Linked DNA regions of Homo sapiens: region 2 is linked to region 1. The links are contacts of gene promoters, found by promoter capture Hi-C in human tissues and cell types (Jung and others, 2019). All regions are on one chromosome and are shown on one strand. Each heading gives the region's core, a stretch centred on a gene start or on the middle of the fragment in contact. The rest is flanking DNA. Distances are from core to core; before and after follow the strand shown.

What was found. The method cuts DNA at HindIII sites, captures the fragments that hold promoters and counts their contacts. A contact is called where the count stands out against the background at its distance.
Region 2: a fragment that was not itself captured here is called in contact with the fragment with the promoter of SYNPO2 in region 1 in 1 of the 25 tissues and cell types used here (aorta).

What each region holds. Positions count from the first base shown.
Region 1 is chr4:118,885,015-118,891,903 of GRCh38, forward strand. It overlaps SYNPO2 (synaptopodin 2), which reads left to right and starts at 3,840. Exons shown (of 5, transcript NM_133477.3): 1 at 3,840-4,127. The coding sequence starts at 4,023. The HindIII fragment of the contact is 17,765 bases long and covers 1-5,630 here.
Region 2 is chr4:119,288,322-119,295,614 of GRCh38, forward strand. It overlaps USP53 (ubiquitin specific peptidase 53), which reads left to right. Exons shown (of 19, transcript NM_001371395.1): 18 at 2,844-2,940; 19 at 4,017-7,197. The coding sequence ends at 4,890. Among named protein-coding and RNA genes, the nearest start is that of ARLN, 8.7 kb to the right of the region's middle. The HindIII fragment of the contact is 3,844 bases long and covers 2,968-6,811 here.

The DNA.
Region 1 (6,889 bases), core at 2,590-5,089:
GCCGGAGGATGAGGAGAAATTATTAGGTGATTTATGTGTGGACAAGGACTGAATAGCTTGGAGAAATGCCTAAGCAGGTGAAACAAAAAAGCAATTTTGAGAAAAGAACAGTACTTCTGTGTGTCTGAATCATCAAATTCAAGGTAGGGGTAGTAAGCAACAAGGTGGAAGAAGTAGGTAGTGGGAGGCAGAAAGTGTTTCCATGTAAAAAAGTTCGGACTTTATCCGGGAGCCCTTGAAGATTTGAACTATAGGAAAAATAACATAGACATTATATTTCAAAATTTCACCCTGGCTTTGGAGTAAAAAATGAATTGAGGGTGGAAACAAGCCTGGAATAGAGACAACAGTTAGGAGACTGTTGAAGTCCAGGTCAGAGATAGACATGGTCCCAGGAGTAGGAAATGAGGGAAGGAGCAGATTTCCAAACTATTTAGAAGTTAGATCCATAGGTCTTTTTTTTTTTTTTTCTTTCTCAGATGGAGTCTTGCTCTATTGCCCAGGCTGGAGTGCAGTGGTACGGTCTCGGCTCACTGCAACCTCTGCCTCCCAGGTTCAAGCAATTCTCTTGCCTCAGCCTCCCGAGTAGCTGGGATTACAGGTGTGCACCACCACGCCCAGCTAATTTTTGTACTTTTGGTAGAGATGGGGTTTCACCATGTTGGCCAGGCTGGTCTTGAGCTCCTGACCTCAAGTGATCCACCCACCTTGCCCACCTTGTCTTCCCCAAATGCTGGGATTACAGGCATGCAGCACTGCGCATAGCCAGATCCATAGGTCTTAATGGATAATTGGTTGCATGAGATAAGCATCAGGGAATACATAAGACCTGGAGGCAGAATAGCAATGATTAAGAATAGGTATTAGGGCAGACAAATTCGGGCAGACAAAAGTTCAAACCCTGGCTCTATCGCTTAGGATTTAAAGCACTGTTAATTATCAGTAAAAGAGAAACACTAATACCTATCTAGCATGGTTGCTTTGAAAATAAATACAACATTATATTTCAAGTTCCTGCACAGAATAAATCTTTGATAAGAGTGGCTACAGAGGCAAGAAGAAAGCCTAGAGCTTGCTGGGCCCAAGAAGCCTAAGGGAGAAATGATTTAAGGAGGACACCATCACTAATTTGAAGCTAGACTTGAGTGGATTGAGGAGCAGAAGGGACATGAAAAAGTAAAAAGAACAAATATGAAAGTGTTTTTTTTCTTTGTTCTCAGAGCTCATTTTTTAAAAATTTTTACTTTAAGTTCTGGGATACATGTGCAGAACATGCAGGTTTGTTACATAGGTATACATGTGCCATGGTTGTTTGCTGCACCTATCAACCCGTCATCTAGGTTTTAAGCCCCGCATGCGTTATGTGTCGTAATGCTCTCCCTCCCTTTGTACCCCACCCTCCGACAGGCCTCAGTGTGTGATGTTTCCCTCCCTGTGTCTATGTGTTCTCATTGTTCAACTCCCACTTATGAGTGAGAACATGTGGTGTTTGGTTTACTGTTCCTGTGCTAGTTTGCTGAGAATGATGGCTTCCAGCTTCATCCATGTCCCCTGCAAAGGACATTAACACATTCTTTTTTTATGGCTGCATAGTATTCCATGGTGTATATGTGCCATATTTTCTTTATCCAGTCTATCACTGATGGACATTTGGGTTGGTTCCAAGTCTTTGCTATTGTAATTAGTGTCAAAGCTCATATTTTATGATGTCTCTTGTAACTATTGTTTAAAGGAAAGACTGGGAAAGTCAATTCGTGTTTCTGAAAAGAATCAAACTTGGGATGAGTATCTGGCCCTCATGACCTTCAAAGGGTCTCTTCCAGTGCCACAATCTCTGATTTCATTGTCCTCACTCCAGTGATGAGTCACAAATAAAATCACTTGATGCCTTTGGCTTCTGGGGAGCATGGGCTGTGTAAAATGTTCATTGTACCACAGGTCCTTGAATAATGCCATTTTATTCAACATTGTTTCATGACAACATTGATGAGAAAAAAAAATGTATTTCCAGCTGGGGCCACTGTTTGTATGGAGTTTGAAAGTTCTCCCCATGTCTGTATAGGTTTTCTCCAGGTCCTCTGGTTTCCTGCCACATCCCAAAGCTGTGCTCATGAGATGAACTGGCATGTCTAAATGGTCCCCATCTGAGTGAGTGTGTGTGTGTGTGTGTGTGTGTGTGTGTGTGTGTGCACCCTCTGATGGGATGGTCAGGGCTGTCCAGGGCTGATTCCTGCCTTGCGCCCTAAGCTGCAGGGAGAGGCTCAAGCCACTGGAGATCCTGAATGGGAATAAGTGGGTTGGAGGAGGAATGAATGTATGGATGCAAATTATTTTCAAAAAAAATTCATAAAATATATGTTAATCACACAAATGCACAGCAATAGATGATGCTGTATGAAATTTCTCAGTGAGCCTGCTATATTTGTGGTGGTTTTGAACTGCATTGTGACAGGAGGTACTCCTTATAATTTTCCTTTTGCAAACATTTATTCCTTGATTGAATCCACCACCACTACAGCTGCCCTCACTCACTGATTCACCAAAAATTGGGTCCATGATTATCTTGTTTTTATTAATCTTTCTTAAATGCATGTGTAGCTGACATTTATTTCCATGTTTAATATTAGAAGTGTTTTAATCTTATTTAAAAGTTTGGTGATGTCTTTGTGACCAGAAATAGACTGTAGTCACTTAACCTTGTTTTTATCAATTAGTCGATGGTAAAATTGGTTTTAAAGTCACAGTTTCCATGAACCTATCTGTGACGTTTTAAGTGAGGACTTACTGTATATAGTGCTTCTTAGTGCTGAAACAGGCAGCGTGTCTGGAAATTTTGTTTGGTACCACAAGTAACACAAACAAACTTTCCCAGGCTCTTCCTTATTTAGTATGTTTTTATGTGGATGAATGTTATGGAAAACAAAAGTATTATAGGAAAATTAAAATGTCCTTTTTGTACATTTTTGGCAGATTGTATTCAGATTTAAAACATTTAAATATTTGGAATATACAAAATCTGCTTTTATATTGGACCACCCAGATTCATGACATGGGATGACAAACTATAAAAATAAGAAACCTGTAGGTGACATTGTACATTTTATGCAGTTGACTAACTGTTGGGTTTGGGTTTAAGAAGATCAGCAGGTAGAAAGAAAACAAAACACGTTAAAATTTAACATACCCAAAACTATGCAATAGATGTAATTATAAGAATGTAGTTTCCAGGAGAAAAATTCATATTCATTTTCTCTCTTTCTCTCTCCCTTTCTGTCTCTTCTCTTCCCCTTTCTCTAAATATATGGTTCAGAAAGGTACTTTTCAGAGCTGGAGGTTTATTAACAAAAAGTTTGTGCTTTCTTTTGTTTCCTCTTATAGGAATAATTCAGCAGAATGCAGACAGAAAAGTAGTAATTTAACTCATTTTAACTCTTTTTTGTCTATTCCATTCATAAATGTGGCAAGTCTCAAAACATTTATTTGAGAGAATCTAATCCTCTAGTAGTTGAATTCCCAACGCTCCTATTTTAGGACGTCATTCATGGCGTGGAGATTAAACCTTCATGTGTCCTTTACTATTTACAGAATTATTAAATGTAAGTTTTTCAATCATACTTATACCATTAACTGCTTGGATTTAATCTGTTAGTGCAAGATAACTTTGGCTCTCCCTTCCGTCCTCCTTTCCCTTATCTCGCCCCACGTGAGGACATTCTCCTGTGTGTGAAGCTGCTTTCCTTTCCTCGAAGGTGGGCCGAGCAAAGGAGAGTGACGCAAGAGTGGGCTGTGTCCTGGATGCTGCGAGCGCCTCTGCCTCCTTGAGAATGAGCCCATTAGCCGCACAAATTCGCAGCAGGCGGCTGGGGCGGCGGCTGGGGCAGCGGCTGCAGCAGCGGCGGACGCTCTGCATTACCCAGTCTTGCGTCCTCGGCAGGCGCCCGAAGCTGAGTGCGCATCCTCTACCGCACCCAAGCTTCGTCTGTCTCGTCAAGCTCTTCATGCTGCCCAACTAAAAGGAAAACATGGGCACAGGGGATTTTATCTGCATTTCCATGACTGGAGGGGCGCCCTGGGGGTTCAGATTGCAAGGTGGCAAGGAGCAGAAGCAGCCCTTACAAGTTGCAAAGGTAGGACCTGAACGAAGTGTCACGGCTCTGTGCTAGGAAGGAAGGAATGAAAGCAACCTGCTGATGGTGTTTTCAGGTTCTGATGCAGAAGTCTAAGTATTATTTGATTTTGCTGCGGATATTAAGATTTTTCTAGGAAGTGAGTTATTTTCTAAGAAACTTTGGAGAGTAATGGGCCACATCCTATGTAATTAACTTGCAATCGATGAGGGGTGGGTGGGAAGAATGCCATATTTATCAGCTGAGGAAAAGGCCTAGTTAACCATGTTCTTCTGACAACAAGCAAGACACTGGGGAGCGTTTCTTCCAGGCAATTTTAGAATGTTCAGTTGAGTTATTGTTTGATGTCACTTCACTTGGCTCTGGCAGAGGAGAAACGCTCAGTTCAGCATAACGACTTTGCTTGGCTATTTTGGGGACTCATATAGAGTGTTGGTAGTGACATTTATTATGCAGCATTCATGAAAAGGCCAATGTTGGGCAATAATTTTAAAAGTATGATGAAGTGTCATAAAATCTATTTAAAAGAATACCCTTTTAAGGATTTGACAAATAAATGCAAAAATCCAATAAATGCTGTATTCCTTCTTATGTACTCTTTTGGTCAAGATCTCAAAAATAAACTTAGAAGATAATCTAAATATATTATGAGTAACTAAGAGGTAACTTTGTAACACATTAATAACTATTTAAAATGCTTTAAGTTTTTATTGCCATTAGATTGCCTGCATTACTGGTTAGCCCAAGGGGATCTGGTATTCTCTAATTGGCATTCAGCTAAAATAAAACTTAAAATGCACAAAACTAAGCAAACTTTTACCTAACCTTATCATCAAATTGCAAATTATAGTATTGTATTGAAGAACATGCAAGAGCATGGGATTAATTTCCTATTTTATGCTTATATTAAAAATGGGTACAGATCTTTATGAAATACATGGGCCATTGCCTTTGTAGTTATTGTTTGTTTCCCTCTGGCTTTTACTCTTTTTTTTTTGTAGTTATTGTTTCCCTCTGCCTTTTACGTTTTTTTTTTTTTAGTGTCCTTTGCGAAGAAAGAAGTTTCTTTGAAACTCCTTTTTGCTTCCAGGCATCATATGTAAATCCTTTCGTAATGTGATGGTGGAATCCTGCCACCTAGTGAAAATTGCAAACATCAAGAATGAACCATAAAACAGTAGATGAAAAGCAGAGTTTTTATTACTGGAAAGTTCCTCCGAGGTCTGCAGTTCAACCCATGAATTTTAGATGAGGAAAGAGCCCAGAGATGTTAAGTAACTTGCCTTAAGTTTTCAGCTTGGAACTGGCAGAGTGATTAAAGGCTCAGAAAGGTGGTTTTGTTGGGTTCCTTTAGGAGTCAATAGCAGGCAACCTCAGATAAAATATGAATGCCCAATTTAGCATATGTAGAATTCATGACACTGAAGCAGATTTGTCCTGAGTCTAGAATAGCAGTTGGCTGGCTCTAGGTATGAGATTTGGGTTCTAATTCCAGCTCTGATCTAACTTGCAGCCTGGCCTTAGGAAAATCTCTCACCCTTCCTGTCTCATCGGTTTCTCTCTCTCTCTCTCTCTCTCTCTCTCTCTCTCTCTGTGTGTGTGTGTGTGTGTGTGTAGGGAGAGAGAGACAAATATTTTAACTTAGGTGGTAAAGAAGTAAGAAAGAAATTGGACTGTGCAGTCTACGAAGCTCTGTCTTGCCCAAGTATTCTACGATCCTGATAGTGTACAGTTTTAGAATCGCTTGCCTACTAATTGAAATATGGGGACAGAGTGGCTGAGTGCTGTTGTTCTCTGGTGGCTCTTTGGCAGCCAGGCCTCAAGAATAGAGTGGGTAGTGGGTTTCTTCTGAGTTCTGCATGTGACGATTTCAATGTGGGACCTCTTTGCGGCGATTCACTGAAGAGCTGAAGCAGATTGCTAGGAAAGGGTGCTGTGGAGATTCTCTGCTAATGGCATCTCTATTTTCAGGATTCAGTAAGGTTGTTAGGCTATGTCAGAATCCAGTCCTACACTCCCCCTAAATCATCCTTCCTAAAATACCCAGCAATACATTTGTGGTTTTCAAAAGATCATTATTAAGGCATCTAGATGTTTGCTTTGCTTTTGTAGTTTGTGATACTATACTTAGAGCTATAGATTTTAAAATATCATTATAAAAGTATCTGGAAGTTTGCCTTAATTTTTGTGTGTTTGTGTGTGCAAGAGAGAGAGAGAGACAGACTGTAGTCTACAGTCTACCTTTTGTCCATACGTTAAAAAGACTAAAGAGCTATCTATAGAAGATGTAAGTTCTAAATTACTGTGGCAATGCACAATTTTTGTTGGTCTTTTTCTTTTTTTAGTTCAAATGATTATGTTTGATTTCTTATACTAGCATTATTTGTGGGAGAAATCCCTTGGAACAAAGCGCTTATCACTTTCTCTGTTATCAAGGCCATTGCCTCATTAGGATCACTGTATTTTATTTAAAATATTAAGTCAATTCAATTCTATTCATGGTATCTCAATGTGTTCAAGGCAAAGTGAATGTTGCTTGGGCATAAACTTTCTCTTCTTGTAAGGACTGGTGATAGCTTATTAGGGCTGGATGCAAGGAAAGAGACAGAAAGGCTAGAGAGATGGTTGCTGTCAAATCAAATGTTCACAGTTTTGAATAACATGCACAAAATTAATTTGGGAGTTGAAGGAAAACTTAAATTTTCAAAGAAAAGAAAATTTCGGCGAGTGCTTGAACCATGCTCCTTAAAATGGGAATGCTA
Region 2 (7,293 bases), core at 3,640-6,139, 400 kb after region 1:
TGCTTGGCTTCATGTAAGATGGCTGGATTCTTGTTTTTGCATCAGACTGTTGTGATGTTTTCATGTATGAAGAAAGCCCATTTACACACAGATAATACAGTTGGAAATAGGAATATTTTAATAGCTTTTCCTAAAAATTGTGGATATTATTCTTTGACACTACACCAAGTAGTAGTTTCTTTAATGCAGTGTGAAATCTGAAACCATAGTATTTAACTTTTCGTCCTCCATTACATTAAAATACATCAGTCTGTCTTGCACTTTGAATGGATACTTTACTCATGCATGATTTTGTAACATCCATGTAGGGTCATTTAAAAAATACTGGTTTGCAGCCGGGCACGGTGGCTGACACCTGTAATCCCAGCACTTTGGGAGGCCGACGCTGGCGGATCACCTGAGGTTTGGAGTTCGAGACCAGCCTGACCAATATGAAGAAACCCCGTCTCTACTAAAAATATAAAAAATTAGCCAGGCGTGGTGGCGCATGCCTGAAATCCCAGCTACTCAGGAGGCTGAGGCAGGACAATTGCTTGAGCCTGGGAGGCGGAGGTTGCAGTGAGCCGAGATCGTGCCATTGCACTACAGCCTGGGCAACAAGAGCGAAACTCTGTCTCAAAAAAAAAAAAAAAAAAAAAATACTGGTTTGCTGAGTTATGCAGGGCTTCCAAGTGTTGATACATTTCACTAATATCTTTCTAAAAACTATTTTTGTTACTATCACCATAGATACTAGCAGAAAGTCTTTATAAGTATTGGGAAGTTGCAAAACTTGTGGTGGATACAAGTTTTCTTCAAACAGGTGTCATGCTTAGTATTACCACAGCAAAAGTGCTTTATGCATATTTCCCATTTCCTCATATAGAATAACAAAAAGATGTGCAAATGAAGTAAATTAATAAAATAATTGTTACTGTTTCATCAAGCATTCTTTAAGTAAAACTGGCTTAAAAAACACAAGTATATGGCAATGAAGAATACAATTAGTACAGTTTAGTGTTACTGCCTTGAATTATGCTAACATTTTTACCCATTATTGTTTTTGCGTCATCAGTGTAAATGGCAACACAGTCAAAAAGTAAAGTAACATCTTAATATTATCATGAAAATAGTTTGACTTCATAGACCCTCTGAAAGGGTCTCGGAGACCTCCCGGGGTCCAAGGCCACACTTCGAGAATTGCTGAACAAGCATAATCTTAAGACTTGGTACATATTGGGTATTCCATAAACTGTAGCTATCATTATTGTGGTGGTACATGACTAAAATAATTTTATACAGTTTTCTGCTTCTCATTTCTACGATAAGTGGGTGATGATGTTCACAAAGTAATTAAAGATACTTTTGTGCTTTGTTGATACATTGGTGGTTGTGACTTTTCTATCAGTATATTGGTGCCCCAGGACCCTTGTGCCTTAGTAAAGGAAAAAGCTCCCTGTAGACCTTCAGGTTCTCAGATATAAAGCACTTGTTCTCCCATAAGGGGGAATCAAAAACTGAGATGGTGTTAGGTAAACTCCTGTACAAATCCAAATGTCTTAGTTCCCTTTTCTTCATCTCTACCTTTTAAAATAATTTTTAGTTTTCAGGGTTTTGTTTGTTCAGTTGGGCCTACTTTATCTGTAGTCTGGACATTAATTTAATTTAATTGTATTAAAGATTAGAGGGCAATAGTCATTTTTATTAGAGCTGTTTTAGTTAAGGTCATGTTTTGTAGAGAGAAATCCAAATGTAGATAATGTTTTACTCTGAACATTAATATTGTTAAAGGCTCTCCAGTGAATTCTCCTAGAATCGTTGTTCAGAGGGAAATAGACCTGCTGTATTTTATGTGGTGCCATATTGACCTTTAGGTTCTAATCAATAGCTAGCTATAATTAGAGAGAGAGAAAAAATGATTAATTTGGTATCTGAAATCTCATGTAGCAGGCTTGGAAGACACTTGGAAGTAACAAAAGTCACACTGTAAATTAGTATAACTTTTTTCATAAGACTTCATTAAAATTAAATTAAAAAACTATTTGGTGCCTATTAAATGTCAGAACCAGGAGAGAAGTTAAGTATCAATTATTAGGAAGCATTATGGCATCATGGTTAAGAGCACGGACTTTTGAGTCATAAAGATCTAATTCTGTAGTATATCGATATATATACTTAACCTTTCTAAGCCACTGTTTTCTCATCTGTAACATCAAGTTGCTAGTCATTTCTTTATAAGGTTATTGTAAAGATTAAATGAAATATCCACTTCTCACAACTTGAGTAAGCAGTCAATAAATGGTAGCTAATTAGTAGTGGTATATTTTATATGCTATCATAATAACCTCCTACCAATTTTAATTCAGTTTAAATTCCTAATATTCCCATGAGGTAGGTAAAATGGATTATCATTATCCCATTATATAAGTGAGGGAACTGAGATTTTAAGAGGTTAAAAGGCTTGTTTACCTACCCATAATTAGTGAGTCCAAACTTCAACTCAAGCCAGCGATCTTCAAATGCAGGGTTTTTTTCACTGTTAACACTTGGTCAGTAAAGATCTTGTCTTAAGTAACAGGGAAAACACATACACAGATCTGCATGACCCAGCAGGAACAGCACTATTCCATCATGGATGACACCCTCAAGTGATAATAAACTGAAGAAATTTTGCATAAAGCATTCCAAAAAGAACTGTTATTTTGAGTTGGGTCTTAAAGAATTCATTTTTTTAAATTGGAAGAGATTACCTTTTATAGAAAGCTTTATGTAAATATAGAAAAGTATAAATGAAATAAATTCTGTAACATAATTTAAATAATTTTGTTTTCCTCATCTCTTCTCCCCACCCCACCCAACCCTAGGCTTTAGAAAAGAACTCAGGAATTTGGAAGCAGGCTATAAATCTCATGAATTCCACCCAGAATCACATTTACAAATAAAAAATCATTTGATAAAAAGGTAACCATATTTTTTTTCCCTAAATACATGTATTATAGGCACGTTGTTTATCAGAAGGGCATAAATACATATTATTACTTTGAAAGCAATGGGTCTATAGTATTGAGATGCCTTTCTTATTGGGAATCATTAATACAATGTGGATCTAAGGATAGAGAGCTTACAAAGTACCAGGTACAGTATCTGATTGTCTGTTTCAATCCTCACAGCATTCTTATGAGGTAGGTGATATTTTACAAGAGAAAATTTGAAGCTTAGGTTAAGTAATGTGACCAAAACTATCGAGCTGAGATTTGATTATAGCTCCATCTACCTAGCAAATCCTCAACTCTCTTTAACCATTGCATTCTAATTCAATTCCACATAATTCATATAAGAAAAATAATTTGCAATATGGCATCATTTACCCTCACCTTAGAAAATAACTATTACCTAAAGATAATCTTGATTACATTATTTTAAACTATTATACAGCCAGGTGTGATGTGGTGGTACATGTCTGTAATCCTAGCTACTGAGGAGGCTGAGGCAGCAGGATCACTTGAGGCCAGTTTAAAGCCAGCCTAGGCAACATAGCAAGACCCTCAAATATAATATAAATATATTTGCAAAATATAATAAAGTAATTAATATACTATACTGCTATATATCAAAATTTAAGTACTTCTACCTCTATTGCCTTTAAAGTTTGGAATGTTGGTGGGGAGATGTTTTAGAGTACTGTTTGACTGTTAACACTTTCCTCAAGTTCTATATATTGTTACAAATAAATGTAATTTTAGTGTTTTGAGTTGAAGTGAGTTTTTAAAATTATATTTCTAATTATTAGAAATGGGATTCTGGTAATGATGGGTGTTTCTGGTAAACACTCACATATTCTGACATAAAGAGTTTGGATTTGGAGAGAGTTGAAAATGTTAATGGTTGCAAATATCTTTCCATTTTTGTGGTTTTGTTGTAAAAATAATATAAACTGTATTTTGGGAAAATCAAACTACAAAACAAATGTTTATTTTCCCCTAGTTTCATATATTTGCATAGGGTGTTCTAGCTTTGTTTTTATTTTCATATTTCAGATCACATGTACATGAAGACAATGGAAAGTTATTTCCTTCATCCAGTCTACAAATACCCAAGGACCATAATGCAAGAGAACATATCCACCAGTCAGATGAACAGAAACTTGAAAAACCGAATGAATGCAAATTTTCTGAGTGGCTTAATATAGAAAATTCTGAGAGAACAGGTTTGCCTTTTCACGTTGATAACTCTGCTTCTGGGAAGAGAGTGAACAGTAATGAACCATCTTCATTATGGTCTTCACACCTAAGAACTGTTGGGTTAAAGCCAGAAACTGCTCCTCTCATCCAGCAACAAAATATCATGGATCAATGTTACTTTGAGAACTCTCTATCCACAGAATGTATAATTCGGTCAGCCAGCAGATCTGATGGGTGTCAGATGCCAAAACTTTTTTGCCAGAATCTACCACCCCCTTTGCCACCAAAGAAATATGCTATAACCAGTGTGCCACAGTCAGAGAAAAGCGAATCTACACCTGATGTCAAACTTACAGAGGTGTTTAAAGCTACCTCTCATCTTCCGAAGCACAGTTTAAGTACAGCTTCAGAACCAAGTTTAGAAGTGAGTACACATATGAATGATGAAAGACATAAAGAAACATTTCAAGTGAGAGAATGTTTTGGCAACACACCAAACTGTCCATCCAGCTCCTCAACTAACGATTTTCAGGCAAACTCAGGTGCCATTGATGCATTTTGCCAACCAGAACTAGACTCTATTTCTACCTGTCCAAATGAGACAGTTTCATTAACTACCTATTTTTCAGTTGATAGCTGCATGACGGATACATATAGATTGAAATACCATCAGAGGCCCAAGCTCTCTTTTCCAGAGAGCAGTGGCTTTTGTAATAATTCACTATCTTAGAGTGAAAAAGGACTAGACCTGTGTTACATAATAATCTTGGTTCAAGCTGCCCTTCTGAACAAAGATATAAACCTAGCATACATTGTAATAGATAACTGGTAAAACTGACCAACTTTTACTTCTCAGAGGCCATTTAAATATAATAGGAACCTACTGACCAAACCTAGTGATACATAAAATTAAAGCCTGTGGCATTTTTAAAGTTGTTAATCACTATACATATGTATGTGTATATGTGTATACACATATATAATTTTATGATCAATATCTTAGATATTTTAGAAATTCCCTTTGAATAGTCTTGGCGTGCCGTGAAAAATAGAAAATCAGGGAGATATAATAATTCATTTGTCATATGCTACAGTTGAATAAAAATTAAATTTGTCCCCCTATTTTGTGGCCAGTAGACTGGGAAGTATTAAACTAACCAGTACTCATGTATGGAGATTATAAACTATGCTAATTGAAAAGTACCAGGTGATACATAGCCTGGTACTTTTTTGTCAAAGAATTGCTTTATGAAGAAGCACTTTCTAATGGGTAACCAGAAAAGGGCTTCACCCATTTGTTTTTGACTTCTATGATAGTCACTGCATATGATCCCTTTAAGTGTCTTTAAAAAAAATGACTTATGAATTTGATAGCATTTGGGGAAAAAAAGCCTTATATGATTAACAATTTGTAAGTTTTCAAGATCGGATGGAATTTAATTTTGCTCCTAGAATTTTTGTCTTCAGAATATCTAGTTAAGATAAATTAGGCCTTTGACTATTATAGGTATTCATAAATGCTACTTTAGCCATGTAAGTTAAAAAGTTAAAATACTTAAACTTTAGTGTATTTATTTATCTCGTTACTTTTTTTCTAATTTTATATGAAATGTGAAAGGTCTTTATTTTGGTTTGGTTTACTTTGGGCTGCTAACCACCAGTGTTAGGAATTAATGTAGGGCACCCTCTTATTGGGAATGTCACTGTAATTGCCTACATTTTCTTTGCTGTAATATTACCTGCTTATAGGTTGTCAACCCATTTTATCTGAATTTGAAAATCTATCTAGGTTTCCAGATTAAATTTCTACCTTTCATATAGAGAGTTTAATTTTAATAAAATGTTTAATTAGAGCATCCTTCCCTTTTATTCTACTTTGAACAAATAGTAATTTTACCCCAACTACTTTTCATGAAGAGTGCTTTGAAAATTAAAGGAATTTTTATTATTATGGTAACCTTATGAGTAAAAATAAGTTACTTTAATTGCTTTATTTCGTTAGTTGTCATTTTATTTTGTACTATGCTGGTAAACTAATTGTGGTTTAGAATAGTTTTATGTTCACTCCTGATAACTGAGAAACAGAACTAAAGTTTTCCTTACATTGCTAAATGGATAAACCTCATATTCAATAAACTAGTAAATGTAGCCACTTGACTGATTGCGTAAATCGTGTTAAAACATTCTAAAATGTTGTAACTAATTTAATGTGAATACTGTTAAACAGAAAATAATTGCTTATAAAAGTCTAACTTCACCCAGTTACCAAGTCTTGGCCAAATTTTATCTTCTGCCTATAGTTTTTACTAGCCTTTTTAAACTATAATAGTGAGTGATCATTACTTTATATTCTCGTAAGTTAGAAATACTTGAATGCCAAATTAATTTTGTTTTAAGAAAGCTTATTTTTAACATAATTTTTTAGTGTGGAGGGTTTGTAAATAATGTAAAGTTTGTAAACCTGTATTTAAAATACCAAAGTTTTTCTTCTTTTATAACATTGTAAGATACTAGAAAAATGGGCTTCAAGTTTTTTAATAGCTTTCACAGTTTGTGTAGTTTTTTTTTTCTATTTGGTTAAGATGTGAGTTGGAAATGTATTATTTGAAACATTTAAACTAATTTTTGTATTTAACAGCAGTCTCAGACATTTGTCTTTTCAACTCAGTTGAGTTGTAGATATCAAATAGAAATGTCCAGTTTTGCCTCTTTTAAGTACTGTCCAGTTGAAACCTCCTGACTCATGTACTACTACACAAACTAGAAAATGCCCATTTATTTTTGTTGATTCAACACTCCAGATACAGATTGATACATATATACTAATCATTTTATTTCATGTAAAAGTTTTACATCTAGGGTGCCTATTTATTTTTATAGATGCTTTCATCCAGTTATAAGCTTATTATAACTTTGTAAATATTTCAGCCAACAGTTGTAATGTTTAAAATACTTACCTTCAGAATGTTATATTTTCATGTGAAATCAATTTCTTCTAATTCAAAAAAATTTTAAGATAAACTGATTTTTAAGTTTATATGATTGGACTTCTCTTTGCATTCATGAACTGTGTGTCACCCTCCCACCAACGTGGATTATTTTGGGACATGTTAAGTCGCGGGTACTTGGAATT